7 separate regions of the Homo sapiens genome follow, and regions 1, 2, 3, 4, 5 and 7 are each linked to region 6. The links are contacts of gene promoters, found by promoter capture Hi-C in blood cells and fetal thymus (Javierre and others, 2016). All regions are on one chromosome and are shown on one strand. Each heading gives the region's core, a stretch centred on a gene start or on the middle of the fragment in contact. The rest is flanking DNA. Distances are from core to core; before and after follow the strand shown. Region 1 has its middle 41 kb from the start of NARS2. Region 2 overlaps LOC105369400 (a long non-coding RNA gene). Region 3 overlaps PAK1 (p21 (RAC1) activated kinase 1). Region 4 overlaps NARS2 (asparaginyl-tRNA synthetase 2, mitochondrial). Region 5 holds the start of NARS2 (asparaginyl-tRNA synthetase 2, mitochondrial). Region 6 holds the start of INTS4 (integrator complex subunit 4). Region 7 overlaps B3GNT6 (UDP-GlcNAc:betaGal beta-1,3-N-acetylglucosaminyltransferase 6).

What was found. The method cuts DNA at HindIII sites, captures the fragments that hold promoters and counts their contacts. A CHiCAGO score of 5 or more calls a contact.
Region 1: a contact is called between a fragment that was not itself captured here and the fragment with the promoter of INTS4 in region 6, in 1 of 17 cell types (neutrophils). The highest score is 5.3, in neutrophils.
Region 2: a fragment that was not itself captured here is called in contact with the fragment with the promoter of INTS4 in region 6 in 1 of 17 cell types (naive CD8 T cells); the score reaches 6.1 in naive CD8 T cells.
Region 3: a contact is called between a fragment that was not itself captured here and the fragment with the promoter of INTS4 in region 6, in 1 of 17 cell types (non-activated CD4 T cells). The highest score is 5.8, in non-activated CD4 T cells.
Region 4: a contact is called between a fragment that was not itself captured here and the fragment with the promoter of INTS4 in region 6, in 2 of 17 cell types (naive B cells and total B cells). The highest score is 7.1, in naive B cells.
Region 5: a contact is called between the fragment with the promoter of NARS2 here and the fragment with the promoter of INTS4 in region 6, in 16 of 17 cell types (neutrophils, fetal thymus, activated CD4 T cells and 13 more). The highest score is 31.8, in neutrophils.
Region 7: a contact is called between a fragment that was not itself captured here and the fragment with the promoter of INTS4 in region 6, in 1 of 17 cell types (naive CD4 T cells). The highest score is 5.7, in naive CD4 T cells.

What each region holds. Positions count from the first base shown.
Region 1 is chr11:78,613,590-78,617,764 of GRCh38, reverse strand. No RefSeq gene overlaps it. Among named protein-coding and RNA genes, the nearest start is that of NARS2, 41 kb to the right of the region's middle. The HindIII fragment of the contact is 1,904 bases long and covers 1,394-3,297 here.
Region 2 is chr11:77,058,635-77,062,449 of GRCh38, reverse strand. It overlaps LOC105369400 (a long non-coding RNA gene), which reads left to right. Exons shown (of 3, transcript XR_950341.1): 2 at 2,920-3,083. Among named protein-coding and RNA genes, the nearest start is that of CAPN5, 6.4 kb to the left of the region's middle. The HindIII fragment of the contact is 2,438 bases long and covers 1,318-3,755 here.
Region 3 is chr11:77,410,736-77,414,986 of GRCh38, reverse strand. The region is part of intron 1 of PAK1 (p21 (RAC1) activated kinase 1); the gene reads left to right. Among named protein-coding and RNA genes, the nearest start is that of PAK1, 61 kb to the left of the region's middle. RefSeq lists an enhancer at 3,349-3,468. The HindIII fragment of the contact is 3,839 bases long and covers 610-4,251 here.
Region 4 is chr11:78,539,843-78,543,764 of GRCh38, reverse strand. All of the region lies in intron 5 of NARS2 (asparaginyl-tRNA synthetase 2, mitochondrial), which reads left to right. All of the region lies in intron 1 of NARS2-AS1 (NARS2 antisense RNA 1), which reads right to left. Among named protein-coding and RNA genes, the nearest start is that of NARS2-AS1, 8.6 kb to the right of the region's middle. The HindIII fragment of the contact is 285 bases long and covers 2,274-2,558 here.
Region 5 is chr11:78,572,897-78,576,630 of GRCh38, reverse strand. NARS2 (asparaginyl-tRNA synthetase 2, mitochondrial) reads left to right here and starts at 1,767. Exons shown (of 14, transcript NM_024678.6): 1 at 1,767-2,283. The coding sequence starts at 2,143. RefSeq lists enhancers at 1,472-1,611, 2,272-2,381. The HindIII fragment of the contact is 10,208 bases long and covers 1-3,734 here.
Region 6 is chr11:77,992,277-77,996,131 of GRCh38, reverse strand. INTS4 (integrator complex subunit 4) reads left to right here and starts at 1,464. Exons shown (of 23, transcript NM_033547.4): 1 at 1,464-1,542. The coding sequence starts at 1,489. RefSeq lists a silencer at 1,080-1,149 and an enhancer at 1,350-1,549. The HindIII fragment of the contact is 5,814 bases long and covers 1-3,855 here.
Region 7 is chr11:77,039,366-77,043,655 of GRCh38, reverse strand. B3GNT6 (UDP-GlcNAc:betaGal beta-1,3-N-acetylglucosaminyltransferase 6) reads right to left here. Exons shown (of 2, transcript NM_138706.5): 2 at 1,683-4,104. The coding sequence starts at 4,104. The coding sequence ends at 2,950. Among named protein-coding and RNA genes, the nearest start is that of ACER3-AS1, 5.8 kb to the right of the region's middle. The HindIII fragment of the contact is 8,137 bases long and covers 1-4,290 here.

The DNA of each region.
Region 1 (4,175 bases), core at 1,096-3,595, 620 kb before region 6:
ACCATCATAGCTCACTGCAGCCTCAGACTTCTGGGCTCAAACTATCCACCCACCTCAGCCTCCTAGGTAGTTGGGACTACTACAGGTGCATATCGCCACACTCAACTAATTTTTTTTTTTTTGGTAGAGACAAGATCTCCCTATGTTGCCCAGGCTGGTTTCAAACTCCTGGACCCAAGTAATTCTCCCACCTTGGTCCCCTGAGTACTGGGATTATAGGTGTGAGCCACTGTGCCTGGACAAATTACATGGTTTTTACTAAACTCTTTTGATTTCATACTTAGTTTTCTTTCTTATGTTGAAAACCTTGATTTCAAAACACAACATAATTACTTATTTGCTTTATTCTACAATAAACTTAGAGTTTCAAAATGACGATAAGACTACTGAATATCATTTAAGATTTTTATAGCTTTTTTTGTTCTTGTTGTATCAAAACAAAATTGCATCACTTGAAGAAATTTTGTATTGTTAAGGACTGGTATGATTTTTTCTTCATTTAATCTTTTCTTAAGCATGTAAAACATTTACATGGTTTCAAAGTCAAAACTATATAACCTAAATTTACAGAAATCTCACTACTATGCCTATCTTCTACATGCTGTTCTCTCTCTCTTCACATGGAACACCTTAATAGATTTTGGTTTGCTATTTTATTTTATTCTATTTTATTTTATTTTGCAAAAATTGGCATACTAAACCTTGTTTTGTACCTTAATTTTTCCCCCACCTAACAATATATTCTAGAAATCACTCTATATCAATACACAGTGATCTTTTCATCAGTTTTCACGGCTTCCTAGTACTTCATTGTGTGGTTGTACCATCATTTCTTCAACTAGTCCCCTATTAACAAACATTTGAGATATCCCCAATCATTTGTTATTATAAATTAAATCACAATGAAATGCATAAGTTGTATTTTATTTTTGTTGATAATATCTTTGGAATCACACTTCTGGAATCACACTTCCATACTTCTGGAAGTAAGATTGCTGAGTCAAAAGGTAAATGAGGCCAAGCTTGGTGGCTCATGTCTGTGGTCTTAGCACTTTGTGGGGTCAAGGTGGGAGGATCACTTGGGGCCAGAGGTTCAGGACCAGCCTGGGGGCCTTGGTGACCCTGTCTCTAAACAACAATAAAAAAGTAAATGAATTTTGCTAGTATGTTGCCAAATTCCATTCCAAAGTTGTGTCATTCACAATTCTCCCAGAAATGTGTTAGAGTGCCAGAGTGCCTAATTCCCATACAGCCTTCCCAATAGACTATGTTGTCAAAATTCTGGATGTTTACCAATCTGATAAATGAAAACTGATAAATCAACAACATAAGCAAGTTTTAATTTGTATATCTCATGACTGAGGTTAAGCAAGTTTTCACATATGGAAAAGCTTTTGTTTCTGTAAAATGTATGTTTCTATCTTTTGTCCACTTTTCTAAATAATTGTCCTTTTTTCTCAATTTTTAAAATATTTAGGCCTTTATTTGTCGTTTGAGTAGCAAATATTTTCCTAGTTGTCATTTGTCTTTTAACTTTGTTTGCAATGAGTTTTGCTGTGCAAAGGAATTTTTAATATACAAATTATCAATATTTTCTTTCGTTTCTTCTCAATTTTGAGTCACATGAAAATTATCTCACTGAAGTTGTTAATGTGGTAGGAATGCTTAAGCAAACTGTAATTGGCAAATCACTGGAGGCTCCCTGTGTACTAGTTTGAGAGTTAAAACTCTGGGGGCTCAATTTTAGGGAGATCCCCACACTTTTATGAGTTTGTCCTTAGGAACCCCACCAGGTTCTCAGAGAAAAATCCTTTCACGCTTCCACCAGGGGGAGGAAAAAGCAATGATTGTGAAATACACCTACAGCATTCTGTTCTTCTTAACAAAAGCCTTCCCTCAGGGAAATTATTTTCCAGAGCCTTACCTACCCAGAGAATGAAAAATACCCAATTCCAAAACCTTCTAGCCTTCTTGCCCTACCTAAGGGAGGAAAAAGAGCTGAGAAGCACTTGGGAAGGTTATAGCCCTAGGACATAGGCTCAATAAAAGACTAGCAGAATAAGACATAACATTAGAATTATAGAATGCTTCCTCTGTTGTGATGGTTAATATTGAGTGTCAACTTCATTGGATTGAAAGATACAAAGTATTGTTCCTGGGTGTGTCTGTGAGAGTATTGCCAAAGGAGATTAACATTTGAGTGGGTGGACTGGGAGAAGCAGATCCACCCTCAATCTGGATAGGCACCATCTAATCAGCTGCCAGCATGGCTAGGATAAAAGCAGGTAGAAGAAGAATATGGAAGGACTTGACTTTACTGAATCTTCCGGCCTTCCTCTTTCTCCTGTGCTGGATACTTCCTGTCCCTGAACATCGGACTCCAAGTTCTTCAGCTTTTGGACTCTTGGACTTATACCAGTGGTTTGCCAGGGGATCTCGGGCCTTCAGCCACAACTGAAGGTTGCACTGTTGGCTTCCCTACTTTTGAGGTTTTGGGACTTGGACTAGCTTCCTTGCTCCTCAACTTGCAGACCGCCTATTACGGGACTCACCTTGTGATCGTGTGAGTCAATACTCCTTAATAAACTCCCCTTCATACATATATCTATTCTATTAATGCTGACCCTCTAGAGAATCCTAATATACCTCTCCTTACCACCACATCAGTCAGGCTCCTACATAATAACAGGGGATTACAACTGAAATAACTTCAAGGCTCAGGCTGGCTTTGGAAGGAGTCTCTAAAGAAATCCAAAGACAGGCTGGGTACGGTGGCTCATGCCTATAATCCCAGCACTTTGGGAGGCTGAGGCAGGTGGATCACCTGAGGTCAGGAGTTCGAGACTAGCCTGGCCAACATGGCAAAACCCTATCTCTACTAAAAATACAAAAATTATCTGGGCGTGGTGGCGCATGACTGTAACCCCAACTACTTGGGAGGCTGAGTCAGGAGAATTGCTTGAACCCAGGAGGCGGAAGTTGCATTGCGCCAGTGCACTCCAGCCTGAGCAACAGAGTAAGACTCTGTCTCAAAGAAAAAAAAAAGAAAAGAAGGAAAAAAATCCAAAGACAACAGGGAGACAGAAACAAGGACATTAGAGCAAGTTTTAGCCTCTGACACCTACAGCTATGGCAAATAGTAAACCTAACCTAGCTTTTAGCCAGATAAACACAAAACCTCACGATACAAGCCTATTTAACTCAGTTTCTTTTAGTCAATACATCATGTCCAGCTTTGAACAAAAATGGCAAGGCATGCTAGAAAGCAGAAACATAGTCTAAGAGCTAGAACAAGCTTCAGAACCAGACTCAGGTATGACACAAAATTTGGAACTATCAGACAAGAAACTTGAAAGAACTATAATTAATATGCTAAGAGCGCTAATGAAAATGTTACCAACATGTAAAACAGATGGTTATGTAAGCAGAGAAATGGGAACTCTAAAAATAATTCAAAAGGAATCTTTAAAATCAAAAAAATATATAACAGAAATGAAGAATGCCTTTGATGGCTTCACCAGTAGACTGGACACAGATGAGGAAATAATCAATGAACTTAAAGATATGTCAATAAAAACCCCAAAATGAAAAGCAAATTGGAAGCAAGTGGAGGGGGGGAGGAATAGAATGTAATAGCCAAGAAATGTGGGGCAATGACAAATGGTATAACATACATGTAAAGGGAATATCAGAAGGAGAAGAAAGGAACAAAATAATTACTCCAAATGACTAAGAATTTTCCAGAATAATGATAGACACCATACCACAGATCCAAGAAGCCCAGAAAACACCAAGCAGGATATATATCAAGACATTTACACACAGGCATATTATATTGAAACTGCAGAAAATCAAAGACAAAAAGAAAAAAAATTGAGACAGGGTCTCACTGTTTCACTTGGTCACCCAGGTTTAAGTACAGTGGCACAATCATAGTTCACTGCAGCCTCGGCCTCCTGGGCTCAAGCAATACTCACACCTCAGCTTCCCAAGTAGCTGGGACTACAGGTGCATGCCACCATGCCGGGCTAACTTTGTTATTATTATCTGTAATGACGAGATCTTGCTTTGTTGCCCAGGCTGGTCTTAATTTCCAAGACCTGCAGGGTGAGTCGGGAAGTTAGAGACTCAAGAGAGCCAATTATGTTGTTCTGGTTTGAGTCCAAAGGACTGAG
Region 2 (3,815 bases), core at 1,287-3,786, 930 kb after region 6:
ATAGGAATTGAGGGATACTTTCTCAATATGATAAGATATAGTCCTATAAACCAGCATCTTATTTAATCAAGAGACACTGGAAGCATTTCCACTAAGATCAAGAACATCACAAGGGCCAGGCACAGTGGTTCATGCCTGCAATCCCAACACTTTGGGAGACTGCTATGAGAGGATTGCATGAGGCCAGGAGTTTGAGGCCAGCCTAGGTGACAAAACGAGACCCCATCTCTACAAAACAAAATACAAAAAAAAAAAAAAAAAAAAAGCCAGGTTTGGTGGCATTTGCCTGTAGCTCCAGCTACTCAAAAGGCTGAGGTGGGAGGATCCCTTGGGCACAGGAGGTTGAGGCTGCAGTGAGCCCTGATTATGCCATGACCTCCAGCCTGGGTGACAGAGTCAGACCTTGACTCTAAAAAAAAAAAAAAAAAAAGAGAAAGAAAGAAAGAAGAGAAACATGGCAAGGATGCCATTATCTCCACTACTATTCCACATTGTACTAGATGTATTAGCCAATGCAATTAGACAAGATAAATCAATTGGAGGTCTAAGAATGGTAAAGAAGAAGGAGAACTATTTCTATTTACATACGGCATAATATACCTGAAGAACCCCAGAGAATCAATGATAAAACTAATTCAAATAGTAAAGGAGTTCAGTGAAGTAGCAGGATACAAAATTAACATGTAAAATATAATGGCCTTTATGTATAAACCTATATGAGGATTTTTTTTTTTTTTTTTTTTAAACAGAGTTTCACTCTGTCGCCAGGCTGGAGTGCAGTAGCGCAATCTCAGCTCACTTCCGCCTCCTGGGTTCAAGTGATTCTTGTGTCTCAGCCTCCTTAGTAGATGGAATTACAGGTGTGCATCACCACACCTGGCTAATTTTCTTATTTTTAGTAGAGATGGGGTTTCACCATGTTGGCCAGGCTGGTCTCAAACCCCTGAACTCAGGTGATCTGCCCACCTTGGCCTCCCAAAGTGCTGGGATTATAGGCGTAAGCCATCACGCCTGGCCATGATGAAATTTTTAGAACATTTTTGAAAGACACGAAAGGAAAACAAACAGAAAAATATCCCTTTGTTTGCACAGGAAAAGTCAACATTGTAATGGTGTTAGTCCTCCCTAAGTTAATGTTAAACTCCATGTAATCCCAATAAAAGAAACAGCAAGGTATTTTATGAAGATAGACATGTTGATACAAAAGTTCACATAGAAAAATAAACTTGCAAGAACAGATAAGAAGACATTGGAAAAGAAAAACCATGAGAGAAAACTAGACTTGCCAGACATTAAAAAAAAAATTAAAAAAAAGCTTCTGTAATTAAAACTGGGATGGTTCTGGTACATGAATAGATAAATTGGAATAGACTAGAAAATCTAGGATTAGACCCAAAACATCTTTACCCCACTAATTTGAGATGTTGCCTTTGCTACACACTAAACATAGACTTTGCAATAGATAATGCCGGGACAACTGGGAGCCATTTGGAAAAAGATAAAATTAAATCCATATGTTACACTGTCATATTTTGTGTTGTGTTGCTGCAAAGGAATACCTGAGACTGGGTGATTTATAAAGAAAAAAGGTTTATTTGGCCCATAATTCTGATGGTTGGAAAGTTCAAGACTGGGCATCTGGTGAGGGCCTCAGGCTGCTTCCACTCATGGTGGAAGGTGAAGGAGAGCTGATGTGAGCAGATATCACATGGCAAGAGGAGAAGCAAGAGAGAGGGGAGAGGGTGCCAGAATCTTTCAACAAGCAGCTCTCCCAGGAACTAAGAGAGTGAGAAGTCACTCACCCCCAGGGAAGGCATTAATCTATTCATGAGGGACCACCTCCATGAGCCAAACACCTCCCATCAGGCCCCACTCCAACCCTAGAAATCACATTTGAACATGAGCCTCGGAGGGGACAAACATCTAAACCATAGCACACATCCAACAAAAGAATAAACTGAATGGATTAGGGATCTAAGTGTAAAAAACAAAGCCACCTGTCTTAGTCAGCTCGGGCTGCTATAACAAAATACCACAAACCACCAAATCCAATGGTAAAGTGAGGGGAAAGGCACCAACAGGTAACTAACCAAAAAAGATATTAAAATGGCCCTCAAACTTATGAAAAAAATATTCAAGGACACTGGTAATTAGAGCGAGGCAAATCGCTCTACAGTGAGATGCCATTTTTCACTTTTCAGACTGACAATAAAAAAGATCACAACACATTCTGTTCACCAAGTTGTAGGGAAACAGTCACTCACAGCTGTTGCTGGTGGGAATACAATTTGGTACAATTTGGTACAATTCTAGGGGAATTGGTAATACCTAAGAAAATTACATACGCATGTACCCTTTAACCCGAGGCAACTCCACTTCTCGGAATCTACTCAGAACCCATACCTCTGGCAGTATGGAAATACACATGCAAAGCCTTTTTCAGTGACGCGTTCTTTTTAATTGCAAATATTGGAAACAATCTACATACCCACAAGTGGGAGAGTGGTTGAATAAATTGTAGTATATCCAAGCAATGGAGCATTAAGCAGCTGTAAAAGAAAATGAGGAGGAGCACATTGAATTGATAGTGTGAATCCCAGAACACACATGGAGAGAGAAGACAATATAAGAACATACACAGGTGTCTGCTCATCTATGCAGAGAAGTACAAGAAGGAAAGATCAGAAACTGGTGCGATTGGCTACCTACAGGGACAGGTGGAAAGGAGTGGAAAGAACTGTTGAATGGGATAGGATGGCAGGGAAGAGCAGGGAGTGACACTTCTCTGACTATATCTTTTTAATTTTTCTTATTGAGATATCATTTACATGCCATAAAATTCATCCTTTAAAGTATAAAATGCAGTAGTTTTTAGTATATTTACAAAACTGTGCAACCATCACCACTATCTAATTTCAGATTGGGAGTCCTTTCCAGTAACATCTCCACAAGGCACTGCTTGTGGAGATTTGGAAACACTACTGGTCCATTGGATAGAGGAAGCACGCTCCCCATTGGATTCTTCTTTATAATTGGATGGAGGGCTCTAATACAGAGAAACTGGATGCTCTGCTAATCTAGAGGTCGGGATTTTCACCACCCCAATAGAAACCTCATACCCAAGCATTCTCCATTTCCCCCTCCCCTTATCCCCTTATCCCCTGGCAACCTCAAATCCTATCTCAATGGATTTGGCTATTGCAGGTATTTCATATACTGAAATCATACAATATGTGGCCTTTTGAGTCTGGCTTCTTTCTTTCTTTTCTTTTCTTTTTTTTTGCGGGGGGACAGGGTCTCACTCTGTTGCTCAGGTTGGAGTGCAGTCACGTGATGACAGCTCACTGCAGCCTCAAACTCCTGGGCTCAAGCAATCCTCCTGCCTCAGCCTCCTGAATAGGTGGGACTACAGGTGTGTGCCAATGTGCCCAGCTAACTTTTTAATTTTTGTAGAGACAGAGTCATACTCTGTTGCCTAGGCTCATCTCCAGCTCCTGGTCTCAAGTGATCCTCCTGCCTTGGCCTTCCAAAGTCTAGCTTCTTTCACTTAGCATAATGTTTGCAAGGTCCATCTATGTTGTAGCATGGATCTGTACTTCATTCTTTTTTAGGGCTGGATAATATTCCATTGTATGAATATACCACATTTTGTTTATTCATTCATCTGTTGACAGACATTTGGGATTTTTCCACTCTTTGGCTACTGTGAATAATGCTTTGAATATTCATGTGCAAGGTTTTTTTTGAGACAAGCTTTCACTCTGTGGCCCAGGCTGGAGTGCAGTGGTGTGATCACGGCTCATTGCAGCCTCGAC
Region 3 (4,251 bases), core at 1,280-3,779, 580 kb after region 6:
TTATTAGATGTGTTTTCTCCCAGTCTGTGGTTTGTTTCTTTGTTCTCTTAACACTGTATTTTGCAGAAATTTTAAATTTTAATCCAGTCTAACATGTCAGTTTTTTCTTTCATGGATCTTGCTTTTGGGGCTGTATCTAAAAAGTCATTGCCAAACCCAAGGTCATCTAGATTTTCCCCTACATTATATTTTAGACATTTTATAGTTTTGCATTTTGCAAATGCAATGGTTTGTGATCCATTTTGAGTTAATTTTTGTGAAAAGCATAAAGCCTGTGTCTAGGTTGATTTTTTTGGATGTGGATGTCCAGTTCTAGCACAATTTATTGAAAAGACTGTCCTTTCTTCATTGAATTTCCTTTTCTCTTTTACAGTCAGTTAACCACATTTGTGTGGGTCTATTTTGGGCTATTTACTTCAATTCCACTGATCTATTTATGTTTTCATTAATATCACATTGTCATTATCACTGTAGCTTTATAGCAAGTCAGTCTTCCAATAGATATCAATATAGTTGTATCTATAAAAATATATTGCCTAGGCCACATGCCAGACCAACCAAGTCAGAATCTCTGCTGGGACTCTAGTATATTTACACATATTTAAAGCTTTCCAAGTTATTCTGGTGGACAGGGAGAATTAAAAGCCACCATACTAAACCATAAAATCATCACCTCCTTGAAGATGTGGTTCTGTTCACTGATGTGTCTATCCCCAGTGACTTGCATAAGATGCTTAAATAGTTGTTGAATGAACAAACGACTAAAAGAACTGGGAGTATTTATCTTGGAGAAGAGAAAAAGTGGAGGGGCATAATAAATTAGCCTACATACATACATAGTTGCAAGCCTTTAATGTGACTTGCCCTGGAGGACGTTGCTCCTGGAGCAGAATTAGAAATTTACAGAGAGCCACCTGGCTGAATGTGAGGAAACACTGCCTCATAGTGCTGGTGGAAAGTGAGCTCCTCATTCCTGCATGTATTTCAGAAAAGCCTGGAAGACCATCTATAAGAGGATGCTGCATGGGGTGGGAAGTCGAGTAAGATAAGTTGCTATGATTATTGCTTATTAGTTTGAAAAGCTGTGTCTAAGGCAGAGGACTGCTTCTGGCTCTCATTCACCCTGTGTAAATTGGGATGAAGGACATGGTGTGGGGTTAAAAAAAAGTCTTAAAATGACTTTGAAGCTGAATCCTCAGACTACAGCAATTCTCCGGGTGTCTATTATTGACCAATTCTTTCTTTCTTTCTTTTCTTCCTTCCTTCCTTCCTTTTCTTTCCTTTTTTTCCTTTTTCTTTTTTTGAGATGGAGTTTCGCTCTTGTTGCCCAGGCTGGAGTCCAGTGGTGCGATCTCAGCTCACTGCAACTTCCGCCTCCTGGGTTCAAGGGATTCTCCTGCCTCAGCCTCCCGAGTAGCTGGGATTACAGGTGCCTGCCACCATCCAGCTAATTTTTTGTGTTTTTAGTAGAGACGGGGTTTCACCATGTTGGCCAGGCTGGCCTTGAACTCCTGAGCATTTACCAGATGTGTGGTCTTGGAGAAGTCACTGACTTCTTTCACCATCGTATTCTGTTTTCCACCAAGTTCTGCTGCTGCTTCTTCCAAGCTGTGTCTTTAGAAAATAGGCTTGCTTCTTTTTACATTATCTTACAATATGTTAGTCTAAATCATTACTATTTTCTGTTGCCTGAACCTCTGAGAGAAGTTATTAACTTATTTCCACTCCTACCCCCTTTCTCCACTGAACAGCCAGTGATCTTTTAAAAAATGTAAGTTAGAGTTTGTCATTCTGCTTTCAAACCTTTCAAAGCCTTCCCACTGCTAAAACTTGGAACAAAAGCCTAACTCCTAATTATGACCCGAAAGAGACACCGCATAATCTGACTTCTGTCATGTCTCTTAAGAGCAGGGTTTGGGAGGGGGAAGAGTGAGGTAATACTACCTCCTAGGGAGCATTTGCAAATGTGTGAAGGTGTGTTTTATTGTTTCAGTAATTGGGAGGCACTACTAGAGGCACTACTAGTCTGGGCCGTGTTGGTAAATGTTCTATAATGTGTTGTTCAGCTCAGGTTCCATCACAATGCCTGATGCACAATAGTTGGTTAAAAAATACTTATTGTATGAGCCCTGGACATTTTCCCTGGACCTCCGTTTTGACGTATGTGAATTGGTATAGTGCCTACTTCATAAGGTTGTTTTGAGAGAGACATAACATTTATAAAGTACCTAGTACATAATAGTTCTTAATAAATGGTAGCAGTGGCTAGGTGTGGTGGCTCATGCCTGTAATCCACAGTTTGGGAGGCCAAGGGAAGAGGATTGCTTGAGAACAGGATTTGAGACCAGCCTGGGCAACATGGCAGACCCCATCTGTACAAAAAATATAAAAATAACTGGGTGTGGTGGCAGGTACCTGTAGTCCCAGCTACTTGGGAGGCTGAGGTGGGAGGATTACTTGAGCCCAGGAAGGTCAAGGCTGCAGTGAGTCAAGATCCAACCACTGCACTCCAGCCTGGGCACACAGCAAGACTCTTGTCTCAAAATAATAATAATAATAATGTAGCAGCTGCTGAGCTTTGTTTGCTTAGAGGCAGCTATAGGGGCCCACCTAGCATTCTTCCTGGAGCATTAGAATTAGAACCTGGCACGTTTGGGGAGGGGGGAGGTGTATCTCTTTCTCTGAGGCCTAATCTGAATCGTAGGTCTGACCTGAGGAATCTTAGAAGGGACTCCTCTATACTCATCTGTAGAAACTAAGGCACAGAGGAGCTCTGGTTGTCTTTCTTGACTCTGGAGCTCACACAGGACTCTGACAAGCCCTGGAAAACCTGGCCCTGGAGAGAAATTACCTCCTGCTGGAGACTGGGTGGGGAGAATAGCTGAGAGGGTGGGAAGATAGCTGTCTCCCCGCCCTCAGCTCTGCTTTGCAGAAAAGGAGAAGCGCGCGGCTTCCTCCCGCCTCCTTCCCTCCTTTCTTCCCCCGCCCCTTCTGTTTCGCCAACCCCGACGCGGCGCCTTCGCTGCCGCCCTGCGAGAGCGCGAGCGTGCTGCACCTCGGGAGCTGGCGGCTGAGCTGCCAGGAGCCCAGCCCAGCTGAATCGAGCGGAGCCGGTGGAGCAGGGGCCTTGTGGGTACCCGGTTGGGCAGGGAGAGGTGCGGCTCTGCGACGGAAACAATCGCCAGAGATGCCGGGGCTAGCCTTCCCCACCAGGTAATGCCGGCCCTGCCTGGGGCTCCCCTAGCTGGGCCGGGTTCTGGGGGATCTCCGCCGGCTTTCGGAGAGTGGTGACACGGGGTCCAGTAGATTTTGAGGGGTGTCTTACTTTCCTCTTACCTTAAGGGACCCTAAATGAGAGAAAGGGCTGAGGGTGGAACCTTTAGATGAGCCCACCCAGGGCTAGGCCTGCACTGGAATCAGAGCTCTGCCCAGGGAAGGGTGTGAAGGGGAAGCTGCGCCTTTGGGGAACCGCTCAGCCTCAGAAGCTCTGCTCCTTTGCAAGCGCCCTTCTGCTTGGTGGCCAACGTGGTGCTTTCCTCTGCCTTGGCTTAGTCGCTGGCCTGCTGGGACTGTGGGGGCTTTTCTGTGTTAAGAGGTTGAGTGAACTGGGAGGGAGGAGACCTGGGGGGACTGGTCCTATTCAGACATCCTCTGTGGCTTGAGTTGCCATATCTGTGCAGTGAAGGACTTGACATTGTTTGTTACTCTGGCTTTTCCAGACTGTCAAACCATCTTTTGGAGAGGTGAGCTGGTTTAAAGTGCTAAAATGGGCTGCAGAGATGTCCCCCTCAACACTGTAGAAGAGAGGAGAACTTGGGAAGTAGACCTTGGTATCCTGTCTTCCAGCCAGCCTTTTGAATGGCATCTTGGTGGTTCTTCAGGGACAAAGCAGAGACTGAGAATGCTGATGCTTATTTTAGTGTGATGCGTAGGTGTGTTAGGTGTAGGGAGGTAGGGTTGGGAAGTAGAAGGTCAAGGTATGTTAATGATTCTAAACTGGCCAGTTTTTCTGTCCTTAGGTATAAAGTTGCGTTAAACTAGACTCTCTTCTCTGGAGCCCCTTCCTTATTCTGCTAAGTTAATGACAGACCTGGCTGTGGTAATATCTTAATCACTATAATTCTTTCCTTCTTTATTACCTGGCACCAAGAAGCTCATGTCAGGCCCGATAATAACCTACTTTGATTATTTTGGACCTCTTTCCTCCCCCTAGTTTTTTCATGACTCTACGTCTTCCTCTCCTCACTTTTC
Region 4 (3,922 bases), core at 1,167-3,666, 550 kb before region 6:
CTCTCTGCCTGGCCGGATTCTGGATATATTTAGAAAGTAGCTTATGCATCTTGGATCTTGGTACCAGGGTACATGTTTTTTGTTTTTGTTGTATCTATTCCTGCTGTGTATTTTCCCAGAAGTGATTATGTTGAATAGTTCACCTCTGCTAGACTTTTGAACTTTTAATATAGAGAGAATTATTTTTTTTCCTACAAATGGTTATTTCCATTGCTAATTAAAAGTAGAAAAGTAGCGTTTCTTCTTTTTAAAAAACATGAACTTTCATGTTGCTAGTCTGGACATTAGAATTCAAGTAATCATAAATGAAAAGAAAATGTCAGCTTCATAAACACTGGAAAGTTTTTTGAGTTTATACTCTTTAGGGCCAATACCATCTAATTATTAGGGGAAATTGGTTTTTGTTGGAAATTAGACATTTATTTTATGCATGCCATCTTTGAAGGAAGCATTCCATGGCATTGTTGACTTCAAGAGACACTTTGATCTCAAAAAATGATGTGAATCCCTTTTGGATAATCTTTGGATAGCATCAAAATCGTGACTTTTATATGAGTATGCTTTATAATGGCTTATTCTTTTTTTTTGACACGTAGTTTTGCTCTGTTGCCCAGGCTAGAGTGCAGTGGCACCATCTCAGCCCACTGCAACCTCTGCCTCCTGGGTTCAAGCAGTTCTTGTGCCTCAGCCTCCCTAGTGGCTGGGATTACAGGCACCCACCACCGTACTTGGCTAACTTACTCTTGATTACCACAGCCAGAGGTAAAGGGCAACCAAGCCCTTCTGTTCCAGTTATCAATAACTTAACTTCCTCCTTGCAGCAACTGCAAGAAAGTATATTTTGTGGGGGGGTTTGTTTTGACCCAAGGTCTCGCTCTGTCGCCCTGTTGGGAGTGCAGTGATGAGCCAGCGATCATGGCTGTCTGCAGCCTTGACCTCCTGAGCTCAAGTGATCCACCCACTCCAGCCTCTAGAGTTACTAAAACTACAGGTGCGCACCACCACACCCAGCTAATTTTTAAAGTAGAGTCAGGGTCTCACTATGTTGCTCAGGCTGGTCTTGAACTCCTGGTCTCAAGCAATCCTCCTGCCTCCACCCCACCGAAGTGCTGGGATTTATAAGTATTTATTGAGTACCTGCTGTGTTTAGTGGTAGTCAAGTCCTTTGTGTGGATACGTGGTTTGGAGACTTAACTCTGGAGCATAGGTATCCCTTCTCACAGAAGTCCTAGTTAACGGACTAGGACCATATCTTATCATATTCATCCTTAAAGCCCCAATCTGACAATGAATAAGCCAAAATTAATATTTTTCAAGCAATAGTGAAAAAAAGTTTGGTTCATTTTTCACCGACCCCTTTACATTTAGGAATAAGTTTGCTGTTTTGCAATTTTACATTTGTGTTTATCTCCTGTAAAAGAAAAATAAGGCAGCATTGTATATTCACTTTCTGTTTTGCCTCAACCTTACCCTCTAATATTAGACTCCACGCGTCTTTTCTTGATTCATTCTTTCTCAGACTGCTCAGCAGGAAAACACTGTTTACAAACAGTCTGACTTAATAACTTCCTTTCCTGCTGATCAAATAGTTGTTTAAATGAAACCTTTCTCAGGGCTGAGTGGGTGTTCTAGTTAGTGGGTGTTCTGGAATGTAAATGAACCCTTATTTTAAGAAAGATTATTTTTATACTAGCAGTTCTGTGTACACCAAGATACACATTTGTAGCAAGTGGAAAGTATGGAAACATAAACTGGACTTATTGGAAATTTTTAGATTAGTGAAAGACCTACATATATGGCTTGTTAATAGGCAAATCCCAAAACTAACATAACCGGCAAAATAGAATGCAGTTTATTGAGCCTGTTTCCCTTGGCTTTGGTTTTTACGTATGAGATGCAGTCTAATGGCATGCAGAACAATTTCTGCAGCAATGATAGCAACTGCATTTGAGATACAGCTTGATAGGGATCATGAAACTACCAACCCACAAATCTTTGGAGACTGTATGACAGATTTAGTTCCTATGATTGATTGCTTGGTTGGTTGATTGATTTTAGAGGCAGAGTCTTACTCTCTCACCTAGGCTGGAGTGCAGTGGTATGATCATAACTCATTGACCTCAAACTCCTGGACTCAAGTGATCCTCCTGCCTCAGCCTCCCGAGTAGCTGGAATTACAGGCACCCTCCACTACACCTGGCTTGTTTTATGTTATATGATCAGCATTTCATACTTAGGAGAGACTAATATTAAAAGCATTTTAATCCAAAGCTTTATTTCAACACTACAGGATAAAAAATGCGAGAGCTGGGCACAGTGGTATATGCCTGTAGTCCCATCGGAAGGCAGAGGTGAGAGGATCACTTGAGCCCAGGAGTTCAAGACCAGCCTGGGCGACATAGCAAGACCTTATCTCAAAAAAAAAAAAAAAGTGACATGACTTATTGGAAAGGTGATTGTACTAGAAGCTGAGAAACCTGGATTCTACAACTGATCTTACCAAAAAGTAGTTGTATATAACATTTATTCTAACATTTGACATTTAACATTTTTAAGCTTTAGCATCTTTTACAAGAGGGAAGTTGAATTAAAATTTTTTTTTTTGAGATGGAGTTTCACTGTTGTCACTCAGGCTGGAGTACAATAGTACTAGTTTCAGCTCACAACAACCTCTGCCTCCCAGAGTCAAGCAATTCTCATGACTGAGCCTCCCAAGTAGCTGGGAATACAGGCGTGCGCCACCACGCCTGGCTAATTTTTGTATTTTTAGTAGAGATGGGGTTTCACCATGTTGACCAGGCTGGTCTCGAACTCCTGACCTCAGGTGATGCGCCTACCTTGGCCTCCCAAAGTGCTGGGATTACAGGCGTGAAAAAATTAAAGTTTTATCTAACTTAGATTTTTTTATTCTTTACTATCTGTATCGTGAAAGGCATAGCCTCCCTCTAATCTCTTAATTGGGATCAAGAAAGAAAATAGGATATTCAGTGGTTATATGGAGCTTACAGATGGTGAGTACTCTCCCTTTTCTTCATGATCTTCAAAGGAAATTGCAGATTGAGGTAAACAGGACAATAGCATGCCATTATGATTTTAAACCTTTTAAATTTCTGAACCATGCTTCATCTTTATGTATTCTCTTCCCAACTTTTTGTCTCTGGGATTATGAGTAAATAGAACTGGGTAAAAGGTGGGGGTAGGGTACAAAGTAGAAAATGGAAAAAGTAAAAGGAGATAAAAATAGATTGGGTGTTTCAGTGATTGTAGAGGTCAAATAAGTTTTCCATTGTTGATTATATTCCTTTCCACTGTTCAGCTTACTGCTATTTACTCTCGCTCCTTGCTATATATTTTACATGGAGACAGAGTCGGACTTGTGTGGGTTTTTCTATTTAATTCTCCTGAGATTGTGAAACTGCTCAGCTAAATTTGTTCTGCTGTGAGAACAAATAACTGGAGGGCAATTCAAAATACTTGTTTAATATTTTCTTGGAAATCCTCAAAGAAACAGGGAGGATTTTAGATCCGTGTGGTAAGAAATTCACTGGGATACACACATTAAAAAAATTTTTTTGGTAGCTCTTGGTTTCCCCTTTCTTGGCTGTGCTATTTACTGTCTTCCAGTGGCAGAATAACCTAGCAAAAATTTTTGTTTTGCATAATAGAGAAAGGCTAGGTTAAGTTTTATTGCACTAACGTAAGTTTTATATGATCAGGGAAAGGTTAGTCTATCATGGACTGTTTAGGATGGGAGGTAATCATCCTTTATATTGATTTTCAAACATTTTTGTTCAAAAGTGTTTTCCAAACAAAATCTTATACCAAGACCCTCTATAGAAGATAGATAAAAGGAATGACTTTGTTTATCAGATAGCTCAAATCCACGTGGTTTTGTTGATAGACTATATGAATGCCTTAACAG
Region 5 (3,734 bases), core at 518-3,017, 580 kb before region 6:
ACAATCAGCTTTGCAAAAACTAATGGACTGAGAATTCACTCCTGCAAGGGTGGCACCAAGGCCTTCATGATCCAAACACTTCTCACTAGGTTCCACCTCCAACATCAAGTATTTTCAGATGAGATATTTTCTAGCCTGTCTTAAGAATGATTTTACAATTTTTCCAGGCCATTTGCCCTCCTGGCAACCTTCCGTGTTCACCTTCTGGCAGGAAATTTTCTTACATGCCTACCTGGCAAAATATTGATCCACTTCAAAAATTCAGCTTAATTTTCTCCTTCTCTAGACTATATTATATTTTATCCAACATATTTTATATTATAAGTATATAATATATAATATATCCAATATAATTTAATTATATATTATAATTTATAATTATAATTTTATTATATTTATAATTTTAATTTATTAAAAGAACCAGGGAACACATTTATATTATATAAAATATAAAATTGTGATACATGTATATATTATAATTGTATTATATTTTATCCAATATAATATTTGGATAAAATATCAAAAATAATTTTTTGGATAAATTTAAGAGGTAGCCTAATATATAAGGGTGACTTTTCAGTCCAAACAAATGCAGACAACTCATACATCTATGTGTGCACTTACTGGTTTATATTTCAGTAGTCTCTTTTCTTGCTTGTCTCCATCTCTAAAGCATGAGCTCCTTGATGGAACAGATCACCTTGGGACACTATGTAATACAGCATACTGCTTAAGTGCATAGAGCCAGCACTTCTGGGTTTAAATCTCACACTTAGGGAATGTGTATCCTTAAGTAGGTCATCTAGCCTTTCTGTGCGTAAGTTCTCTCATTTGTAAAATGGGTATAATAATAGTAGCAACTTTAAGTAAGGTAAAAGTGAGAGAGAGAGAGTGAGAGTGAGAGGGAGCGGGAGAGAGACAGCGAGGGCGAGCGCTGGTCTTGAACTCCTGGGCTGAAGCAATCCTCCTGCTTCTGCCTCCCTAAGAGTTGGGATTACAGGCGTGAGCCACCGCACTTGGCCAAACGTTTTACTTTTTAAATTAGATTAAAAACCTTTTAATGACCGTCATTGAGTTACAGAATTTTTTTTTTAATAAAACGTAGCCTAATATATAAAAGGGTCATTGTTTCCAGGTCAAACAAATGCAGATAGCTGTGTTGGAGGGCAGAGGGAAGAGGGAGACTTGGAGGATTCTGGCAGGAAACACTCGAGTTTCCTCCAGTCTCTGCAACATCTTCCCACCGTCTTGCCTGCCATATGCAAGGTCCCTCCAGTTCCTTTTATTTACCTGTCAGAGGACTACTTTCTCCAGGAAGCCATCTCTGGCGTCCCACGCTTAGGCTCTGTCAGGCAAACTGATCGCCCTTTTATGCAACTGTCTGTTTAGCTGTCTGATACCACACAACTGTGACTTGCGCATTGGGGCTATGTCTGATTTTTCTCTGCGGAGTACTCAGGAAAGGAACGACTGATCTCTTCAAGCGAATCCTGTTAACAGCTAAGAGCCTCCTCTTACTTGGATCCCTATTGTTGACTGATGGAGACGGTTTCCCTCTCCATCAGTCACTCCTTGCCTCTCAGTTTCTCAGCCTCACCTGGAAACTTTAGAAATGAAGACCCTCAGATGTGCTCCCACGTTCTTTCAGCGATAATCTCTACAACCTTAGGGCATTAGCTCCGCCCCGTCTCGGCTCCTGACCCCGCCCCCTCCCGCACGCCTCCCTAAGCCTGGGTCACAAGTACGCATGCTCTCCCTTCTTCCCCGTAGCGTGATGACGTAAGCGGCGTTGGCGTGGTGTGGTAGGAGTGGTTGCGCGTGTTGCGGCCCGGGTTCTGTTCGTAGGTTTACAATTGTCGCGGGTAGTGGGGCGCCCCAGCTGCCAACTGCACGTGGTTTCTTTCTGGCGTTTGCCTAGTGTCCTGTCCATTCCGCCCCGTTGGGAAGTGGGAAGCGGAGAGGTTCTGTGGGGACAGAGCTGGGAGTCCTGAAGGAGAAAGCGCGCAGCCGAGGGGCTCTGGAGTGCCTTAGAGCAGAGCTGCGGCCGCGGAAGGGGAGCAGCTGAGAAAGGAGGGCCGCTGCAGGCGGGGTTCGAACCGTGGGGTCTGGGCTGCTCCCGCGGAGGGCCTGGGCGGACGCGGGATGCTGGGGGTCCGCTGCCTGCTGCGGTCCGTGCGCTTCTGTTCCTCCGCCCCCTTCCCCAAGCACAAACCTTCAGCCAAACTGAGCGTGCGGGACGCTCTCGGGGCTCAGAACGCGAGTGGGGAGCGCATTAAGATCCAGGTTGGTGAATGGGAAGGGAGTGGGTTTTTTCTTGTAGGGACTTTTATATGGCACATCCACATCTAGCTTTTCTTTTACAGTCGGGTCAGACACAACCGCCAGCAGGGAAAAGTTAGAAAGTGTAGGCGTCGCGGGTTTGCACTTTTCTGATTTCCATTACTTTTCACAAAACTGTTCCGATAACTGTAAAGCGCTGGAACTTTGCTTTCATGATTCCAGGGTATTACCTGTAAACTTGTTAATCATACCAAAAGTGTAAATGAACAAGCCCCCTTTCTCTATCTTTATCCCTTATAATGAATATCCAGGTTTATAAAGTGGTTGTCTTGACCTCCCTCCTTGAGAGCAGAAACCGTGTCTTACCTGCCTTTGTATTCACACATGGCTGACAGCAAATACTTGTTCAAACCATGCCTTTTAAACTTTTAGCGACCTCAGTGCCTATTGTGGGGGTCTGCATGTAATTTATTTTTAATGAATTCGGAGAAAGACTGGAATGTAGCAGTTTGAAAGAGCTCTGGAGTTAAGCTGCTTAGGTTTAAATCTCTGCATAGCGTTTATGCGTTCTACACCTTATTTTCCTCTTATGGAAAGAGATAATAATTGTCCCTGAGTCCTGAAAATTAAATGAGGTAATGGAAGTAAGATATTTAGAACAGTGGCTCATAGTCTACAAATGTTAGCTGCTATTGTTTCTCTTGCTGATTATATTATTTGCAGCAGCTCCACATAGAAGAGGTGCAGAATAAACAAGGTGTTTGACTGTTTCTTATTAGGTTGCTGAAGTACACTGATGTGGTTATTTATTTTTTGAGACAGGGTCTAGCTCTGTCACCCAGACTGGAGCGCAGTGATGTGATCTCAGATGACTACAACCTCCATCTCCCAGGCTCAAGCAATCCTCCTGCCTCGGCCTCCAGAGTAGCTGAAACTATAGGCATGCACCACCACACTCTATAATTTTTTAAGTTTTTTGTGAAGATGAGTCTCACTGTATTGCCCAGGCTGGTCTCAAACTCCTGGACTCAAGCAGTCCTCCTCCTTCGGCATCCCAAAATGCTGGGATTACAGGCATAAGCCTGGTAGATGTTGTTATAATAAATACTTATTTTTTGAGTAGGTTCTTGCTTTGTCACCCATGATTGTACTGACACAGTCATGGCTTGCCGTTGCAGTGATTTCTGTTGTCCTCACATATCCTTTACTTTTTAGCGGTATGACCAATCTGCTCCTCTTTGAGTTCCATATTCTTTCCATAGGTCTGTTGGTCTATTGATTGGGTATACATTAATGATACTTTGTGTGCTAGTCAAGAGAAAATTCAAAGATGAAAAGAGAACCTGCTGCCCAGGTTAGAGGATTTCAGTTTAGTCCTGTGAGGTCTGATATGGTAGCTACCAGCCACTTTTGGCTCTGAGCACTTGAACTTTGTCTGGTCCAAATTGAGATGT
Region 6 (3,855 bases), core at 215-2,714:
GCCTCGGCCTCTCAAAGTGCTGGGATTATAGGCGTGAGCCACCACTCCCAGTTTCCTCTAATTTTAGGAAAGCCTTCCCTGAGGCACTCTGAAGAAATTAGGTCTGTTTGAACCACATTCATTCCCGTTACCCAGCACATTTCAGTTGCACTGTCACCATCAGTTTGGGTGTCTGTCTTCTCAGATTGTAGGACCTTGAGGATAAATACTATCTTTTGTTTATTTTTGGGTCCTCTGTATCCACCTCAGCCTCCTGCTTTTTTTTTTTTAAACTATCCCACATTAATTCTTTTTTTTTTTTTTTGATAACGGAGTCTCGCTCAGTCGCCCAGGCTGGAGTGCAGTGGCGCGATCTCGGCTCACTGCAACCTCCGCTTCCCATGTTCAAGTGATTCTTCTGCCTCAACCTCCCAAGAAACTGGGATTACAGGCGTGTGCCACCATGCCCCGACTAATTTTTGTATTTTTAGTAGAGACGGGGTTTCCCCATGTTGGCCAGGCTGGTCTCGAACTCCTGACCTCAAGTGATCCATCCGCCTCGGCCTGCCAAAGTATTGGGATTACAGGCATGAGCCACCGCGCCTGGCCCACATTCTTTTGAAAGACCAAAATAATGAACAGCTAGTTTCATGTAGGTTGTAAAACTTGACCTTGGATTTACTGACACTAACATGTGCACTACACCTTACAGTCCGTAAAATGTTCCTGCATTATTTCACTCCATTGTCACATCTTTGTCAGGTTAGTTATTATAAATGCATTTGTAGTTGAGCCATTTGCTCAAGAACCAGAGCTGTAGTCTGTAGCTTTGTTGCTTTATCCTTGGTCTCAGAAGTCTTCTACTGTACTATAGCTATCAGAGCAGGGATTGATGCCTTAAAGGATGGCAGCTTTTGCAAAACTGGAATAAGGAAGTATGGAAAGGCACCCCAAAACAAGAGAGGTGGCGCACAGCTTGAACAAAGGCAGTGCTCAGGAAACCTACAAACAGCATCGTGTACAGCAAAGGATGATGGGAAAGTCAGCCGAGCCTCTGAGTTTTTTCACGAGTCGTAAACCCCTTACAGAGCTCCGGGTTTTGCCTCTAGCTCTGGAGCACCCCGCCTCTGCCCTTTAACCTGTACTTCCTCCCTCCCTCCCTTCGCGCCGCGCCGCGCTAGTCTCTTAGCCACTCCGAGGCCACCAACCAGCCTCCCAAAGCTCCCATTGGGTTGCCCACCCTTTCAGTCTCAGCTCCTCCCGCCAGAGGCCCCGCCTCCCACAAGCGAAGCTCTTATTTCCGTTCTTCCGGCGTAGGCCGCCAAATCAGTCCGTACAGTGGCGAGGCAGTCGAGCAACAGGAAGCGGTCGCTCTTTCCCCAAATCCCACTGCCTTGTGGGATCTCGGCAAGTCATCCACCCACCCCCCGCGCCTACGCAAGTTTTCCGGATCCGTCCACCCCCGCCTCCCTCCTAGTGTACGGAAGCTGAGAGGGCCCGCGGGTAGGCATGGCGGCGCACCTTAAGAAGCGGGTTTATGAGGAATTCACGAAAGTGGTTCAGGTAAGCTCTGGCGGGAAAGATCCAGAACCGATCCGGACCAGGGTAGATTATCCAAATCCCAGGCACTTTGCCGGAACAGAAGAGGCTCCATACGCCCGTGTTAAGTGCTGACTTGTTGATAATCTCTGATATTGCAAGTTAGTGGGCGTGTTAGTTTGCAGCCGCTGTTGTCATTAATATGTGAAGTCTGACAGGATTTTAAAAAAATTATTAGGAGAAACAGTGTTTTTTAATTTACGAAACTGTCTTATCCGTTATTTCATTTTATTCTCTCACACAACTTTGCTCCATCGCGTTACATTAGCATCCTCGTTTTCCAGATGTGGACATTGAGCCTTCCGGAGGGGTACGAGGATACAGCCAGTTAGCAGCAGAGCCCCTTCTAGCCTCCCCGCACCCCCGTTCCAAAAAAAAACCTCCCAGGGACCAGTTGGAATATACACAAGGTTCTAAGGGGCTGAAAGAAGGGTCTATAGAATTCCTTCAGGCGCAGTCTAAGCAGGCGGGGGTCACAGACTTCATAGGGGAAGAGCTCTCTATTGGTAGAACAGCTCACCTAGGAAGGAGGGCAGTACCTTCCTCACCATGAAGTTGTGACAGGTGGGCAGAGTCCCTGTCGGGAGTCAGTGATGCTCCATGTGTCTCCACGTAGATGTTGCTAGGGTTGATCCTAAATCATCCTGATGTCCTATTTCTCAGATATTAATGTGTATACAAATTACCTGGGGACGTTGTTCAAATGTCGATTCTATTTGATAAGTCAAGCAGAGGAGGTGAGGCAAGATTCTGCATTCCTGACATGCCCCCAAATTTACACCAGTGCATTGGTTGCATTCTTAGATCCTTAGACTTGTAGAGTGGCAAGGCTTAGAGCATCCAGCAGGATACTGATCCTTAAACATTACATGGATTCATTCATCCAGCATTAAAATATGTTAATACAAATACAAAATATGTCAATACATAATATAAAATTTACAATTTTAACAATTTTAAGTATAAAGTTCAGTGGCATTAAGAACATTAGCACTGTTGCACAATGTGATTTCCTCTCTTCCCAACATTCTGTTGTTCCCATTTCCCAAGACTGCTCAGCCCTCTTCCACCCATCCTCACATGACCAGATATGCCATGTGTTCTTGTGTTTGCATATCTCAAAACTCTTGCACTGGTTGTCTCTTCTCACAGAATACATGCCATTCTTCCCTTTCTTTTTGTTCTCCACCCAGTGGACTTAACATTTGTGCTTCAAGACCCAAATGAAACCTCAGCGAGAGCTTAGTCTCTTCTTCACCTGTTTCTGTAGCATTCTGTGGTACTAATCTATTTGTACTTTTTGTTCAGTGCTGCTGTCATTACCGGTGTACCTATCTTCCCACCAGTCGGAGGTCCTTGATGGCAGAGCTAATGCCTGGCTCATCTCCGTGTCCTGGAGATGGACAATAGGGCCTGGCTCACTAAAGTGTTATTGGTGGTTGAATGACAGTTGATATTGCTTGTCCTCTCCCTTATATAATACTTAGGGAAAAAATTCCTAGCTTTTGACCTAACTACAGCTTCGATAAGACTGAAAACTGAGTTTGAGAGGACTAGGATAGAAATGGCTAAGAATTTTAAGGGAAGAGCTAATTTCTTCACTTAATTTTTCATCAGTTGTTAACATAAAGTGATTAAATGAGATCTTAGTGCTTCTGTTCTTTTTTCTCCGCTGAAAAGATGAGGAGGGAGAACTGATATGTGCCTAGCACTTACATATACGTATAATAAAGTTATGTTTAATAACAGATTTATCGACTAGCTCTGTGATAATAAAGTATTGGTATGCCCTCCTATAGAAGAAGGCCTTCCCCAGCTAGTAAGTTGTAATTGAATACAAATTCCTCTGACTCCAAAGTCCTTATTCTTTTTATCATGTCATACTGTGTTCTTGTCTAGAATAATTCTACTCTCTTTTCTATAGAAATGTGAATTTGTAAGGAGGTGATTGCTCAGTACATAAAAACGCACCATTAGGTGGTAAGGAAATTTATTTTATTTTATTATTATTTTTTAACAGAGACAGGATTTCACCATGTTGCCCAGGCTGGTCTCGAACTCCTGGGCTCAAGGGATCCTCCTGCCTCAGCCTCCCAAAGTGCTAGGATTTCAGGTGTAAGCCACTACGCCCATCGGATATTTGTTTCCTTTTCTTCTGTTTTGAGATGGAGTTTCGCTCTTTTCGCCCAAACTGGTGTGCAGTTGCGCAATCCTAGCTCACTGCAACTTCTGCCTCCTGGGTTCACGCAATCCTCAGCCTCCTGCATAGCTGGGACT
Region 7 (4,290 bases), core at 1,405-3,904, 950 kb after region 6:
GGCTCACTGGAAGCTCCGCCTCCCAGGTTCACGCCATTCTCCTGCCTCAGCCTCCCGAGTAGCTGGGACTACAGGTGCCTGCCACCATGCCCGGTTAATTTTTTTGTATTTTTAGTAGAGACGGGGTTTCACTGTGTTAGCCAGGATGGTCTCTATCTCCTGACCTCGTGATCTGCCCGCCTCAGCCTCCCAAAGTGCTGGGATTACAGGCGTGAGTCACCACACCCGGCCCCCCGGAATTCTTACGTTGAAATCCTAGCCCTGAAGGTGACGTGGTGATGATGTGATGATGGCAGAACCCTCACCAATGGAATCTGGGCCGCTGTAAAAGAGGCCGTGGGAGCTTGCTTGCCCCTCCCACCATGCAGTGACACAGCAAGAAGGCAGTGAGGAATGGGCCCTCGCCAGACACCAAACCTGCTGGGACCTTGACCTTAGACTTCCCAGCCTCCAGAACTTTCAGAAATGTTTGTAAGACACCCAGTTTATGGTATTTTTGTTACAGCAGCCTGAACAGACTAAAACACTAGCAGGGCAAGGCTGCTGTAACAGTAGACAAACCCCAGAAGCTGAAAAATCATAAAAGTTTTTGTCTATATTGTTCTGTCCATAATTTTTTTTAAAAGCATAAAAGTTTATTTTGTCTTCCTCAGTAGTCTGAACTGAGTATTCCAGGTTGGTCCCCGGGCTGCTCTGCTCCGTGCAGGAACTCAGGAATCCTCGTTTCTCTGCCTTCCTCTAGGCCAGCGGTTCTCTGCTAGGGTGAATTTTCCCACCAGGGTATGTTTGGCAACGTCTGGAGATACTTTGGGTGTCATGACTTGGGCTGTGATACTGGTATCTAGTGAGTGGAGGACATGGATGCTGCTGAATGTTTTACAATGCACGGGACTGCCCCCCACAACAAAGAACCGTCCTGCCCCAAATGTCAGTAGTTGAGAAACTTCCACTTGGGCCTGAAGCATTGTCCTCACTTGCAAAGTCAGAGCTGGGTCCCAGGCCCATCCATGTTCCAGCGAATGGGAAGGAGGAAGAGAGCATAAGCAGGCCCAGGTGCCACAGTGATCCTCATCCACTCCCGTCCATCCATGAGGGCCTAGTCACAGGGCCACATCTAACTTCAGGGGACGGAGTGCTGGGAAATGGAGTCTAGGTGAGTGCCCAGGAGGAAGGGAACAGCCGACTCAGGTGGGCAGCTGGCAGCTTCCCCGACAGGCGTCCTAACTGGTGCAAGAGACATGCAGGATGGAGGTGGTTGGAGGACATTTCGGTAACTAGGTCAGAGCTTGTGCAAAATGCAGAGACAAGAGAGAGCCTGACAAAGCGCAGGCACTGCCACCTGGATGGAGGCTGACAGTGGGAGGGAGGGATCAGTGAGCAGCAGGCGGGTGGCAGGAGCCTGAAATGCAGGACTGAGGAGTCTAGTCTTCGTCCTGAAGGCAGGGAAGGACCTTTGGCCAGTCTCCTGACGTTCTGCCCCGGCTCTTTCCTCCCTGAAGGTGAGTCCCTCGTGTCCATCTTACATAGTTGGGACCTTGCTGACACACACTTCTGCCTGCCTTTAGGCCGTTTCCTTGATTTTCTATGTTGCCAAGATGACTGGCAGCTGCTGGAGGTCAGGACCACAGCCTGGTTCTCAGAGCCCCAGGCACCAAGTTCCCACCCACCCTTGCAAACTCTCCTTTTTTTTTTTTTTTTTGAGATGCAGTCTTGCTCTGTCGCCCAGGCTGGAGTGCAGTGGCACGATCTCGGCTCACTGCAACCTCCGCCTCCCAGGTTCAAGTGATTCTCCTGCCTCAGCCTCCCAAATAGCTGAGATTACAGGCACGAGCCACTATGGCCGGCTAATTTTTGTACTCCCAATAGAGACGGGGTTTCACCATATTGGCCAGGCTGGTCTCGAACTCTTGACCTCATGATCCGACCTCCTCAGCCTCCCAAAGTGCTGGGATTACAGGCGTGAGCCACCTCGCCCGGCCCCACAATCTTAACCACTGTCCACTTCGGTCTCAGATCCCCCACCTCCCGAACACAATTCTACACACCTGCCTCCACAGGCTCCCCAACACTGGCCTCCATGTTCCCACCAGCCTTTCTCCACTTCGGACTCCCCGGAACTCCCTGCTGGGTTGTCCAAGGCCCACTGAGCCTGAGGCCCAGACCCCGGCAAGGAGCCTGTCTCTGACCCGTGGGGGTGATTATTGGCGGGCAGGACCCAACTAGGCCATTAGCTTTGGTTGGGGTGAGTGTGGAGGGGACCACAGTGGTGTGCTGTCTGGGAATGCCACGGCCCTGGATTAGTCACTGTCTGACCGGGCCTCTGGTTTCCACTTTGCACGGTGAAGATTTCTACCTCACGGTGTACTGGGGTAGTGGTGGGAAGAAGGCCACCACATGCGCCTCAGCTGCGTGTTGGCTGACTTCTTGGGGGAGGGGGAAGCGGGATCCACCTGATACTGTCAGCCCAGCTCCAGCTCCACTCACTTGTAAACAGTGGAAATCACAACTGACATTTGTAGGCACATGGCAGGGGGCGCTGATCCTGGCTCCCACGCTCCCAGGTCTCCCTTGCTCCACTGCTCAAGAGGACCCGAGTGTGGGAGCGAGGGGCCCGGAATTCTTGCAGAGAGGGCGGTGGAGCTGGCTTTGCGAGGATGAAGAGATAGTCTAGCCGAGTGGTCCTCAGGCCTAGCTGCACATTCGCATCACTGGAGGAACTTAAAAAATACTTAACATGTCTGGGTCCACCCCAGACTAATCAAATCGAAACTTCGGGAGATGGAGCCAGGATGTAGGCATTTTCCACACCCCCCACCCCAGCTGATTTCAGTGCGCAGCTGGGGTTCAGGTGCACAGAGCTGGGCAGGACGTAAGGTACCCAGAGCGGGAAAGCTGCCTTCTCAGCATGGACATGGTTGGAGGCCCGGGGCTGAAGCCGCCCAACTGGCCTCAGGAGACCCGGTGTCCCCGGTCACAGCTGAGCGCGGGGCTGTGCAGCGCCTTCCACATGAGCAGCATCTCGTAGGGCGCGAAGCGGTGCACTAGCAGCAACTCGCGGTACATGCAGGGGTCGAAGGAGGACTGCTGTGCGCCAGGCAGCTGCACGCCGAAGGGTCGGATGCCCTCGTGGCCGCTGGGCGCCAGGCCGGCGCGCTCCAGACACATGCCCATGTAGGCGTCGTCGATGGGGAAGAGCGGGGTGTGGCGGGCGGCCGCGCGCAGGGCCCGGGCCGTGGGGCCGGACAGGAGGAAGCCGCCGCCGCTGCAGTACACCGGGTAAGCGGACCCGGGGAAGAGCTGCGGCGGCACGAAGTACTTGCTCCAGCTGTCGCGGATGGGCACGGAGCCCTCCATGAGCTGGCCGGAGAACAGGTGGCGGCCGGGTGGCTGCGCCTGCAGGAAGCGGACTACGTTGGCGGTGTGCACGAACACGTCGTCGTCGCCGCTGAGCAGAAAGCGCGCGTGCGGGCAGCGTGCAGCCAGCCAGTCGAGCAAGTGCAGGTGCTTGAGCGTGAGGTTGAGGAAGGTGTCCGCGAAGGCCCACTGCAGCACGTCGCCGTGCTCGCGCGCCTCCAGCGCCACCAGCTCCGCCAGCCGCTCCGCGCGCGCCTCGTCCTCGGGGCCCGGGGTGCCCAATAGAAAGAGGCGGCGCACTGGCCGCCCGCCGTAGCTGCGCTCTTGCCCCCACGTGCGCCGGATGAGCTCGCGTCGCTCGTAGTGCTCAGGCGCCGACTTCACCGCCAGGAGCAGGAACACGCCTCGGCCGCCGGCGCACTTGGCCGGTGCGTCCCAAAGCAGCGGGAAGTGGCGGCAGTGGCGGTACCGCAGGAAGTCCTGGATGCGCGCGGGCAGCTGCTCGAAGTCGGCCGTGGCGTTCGCCGAGGCGTTCGCCACGCACGGGGGCCCGGGGACGAGCTCCGAGGGCGGCTCGTCAGCCGCGGGAGCGTCGGTGGGACCCTCTGGCGTCTCCTCCTGCGGGGACCTCTCCTCCCGCGGGGACCTTGGCGCCTGGAGGAACCACTGCTGCAGTGCTAAGAAACTCACGCCCACCAGGAGGCAGGCCAGAGTCTTGGCAGTCAGGGACCTGCGGCAGGGAAAAGCCATCTGTGGGGGAAACCGAGTCAGAGGTGAGCCGGAAGTCGTCTTTGACACCGGCAGGACACCACCCGTACCCCGTCACTTCTCTCCCAGAACCCAGCTCCAGCCCCTTCTCAACTCTGCTGTTAAGTGGTAAAAAGGAATCAAAATCCAAGATTACACTGACGGTCTCTGGTCTCCCACACTCCGGAC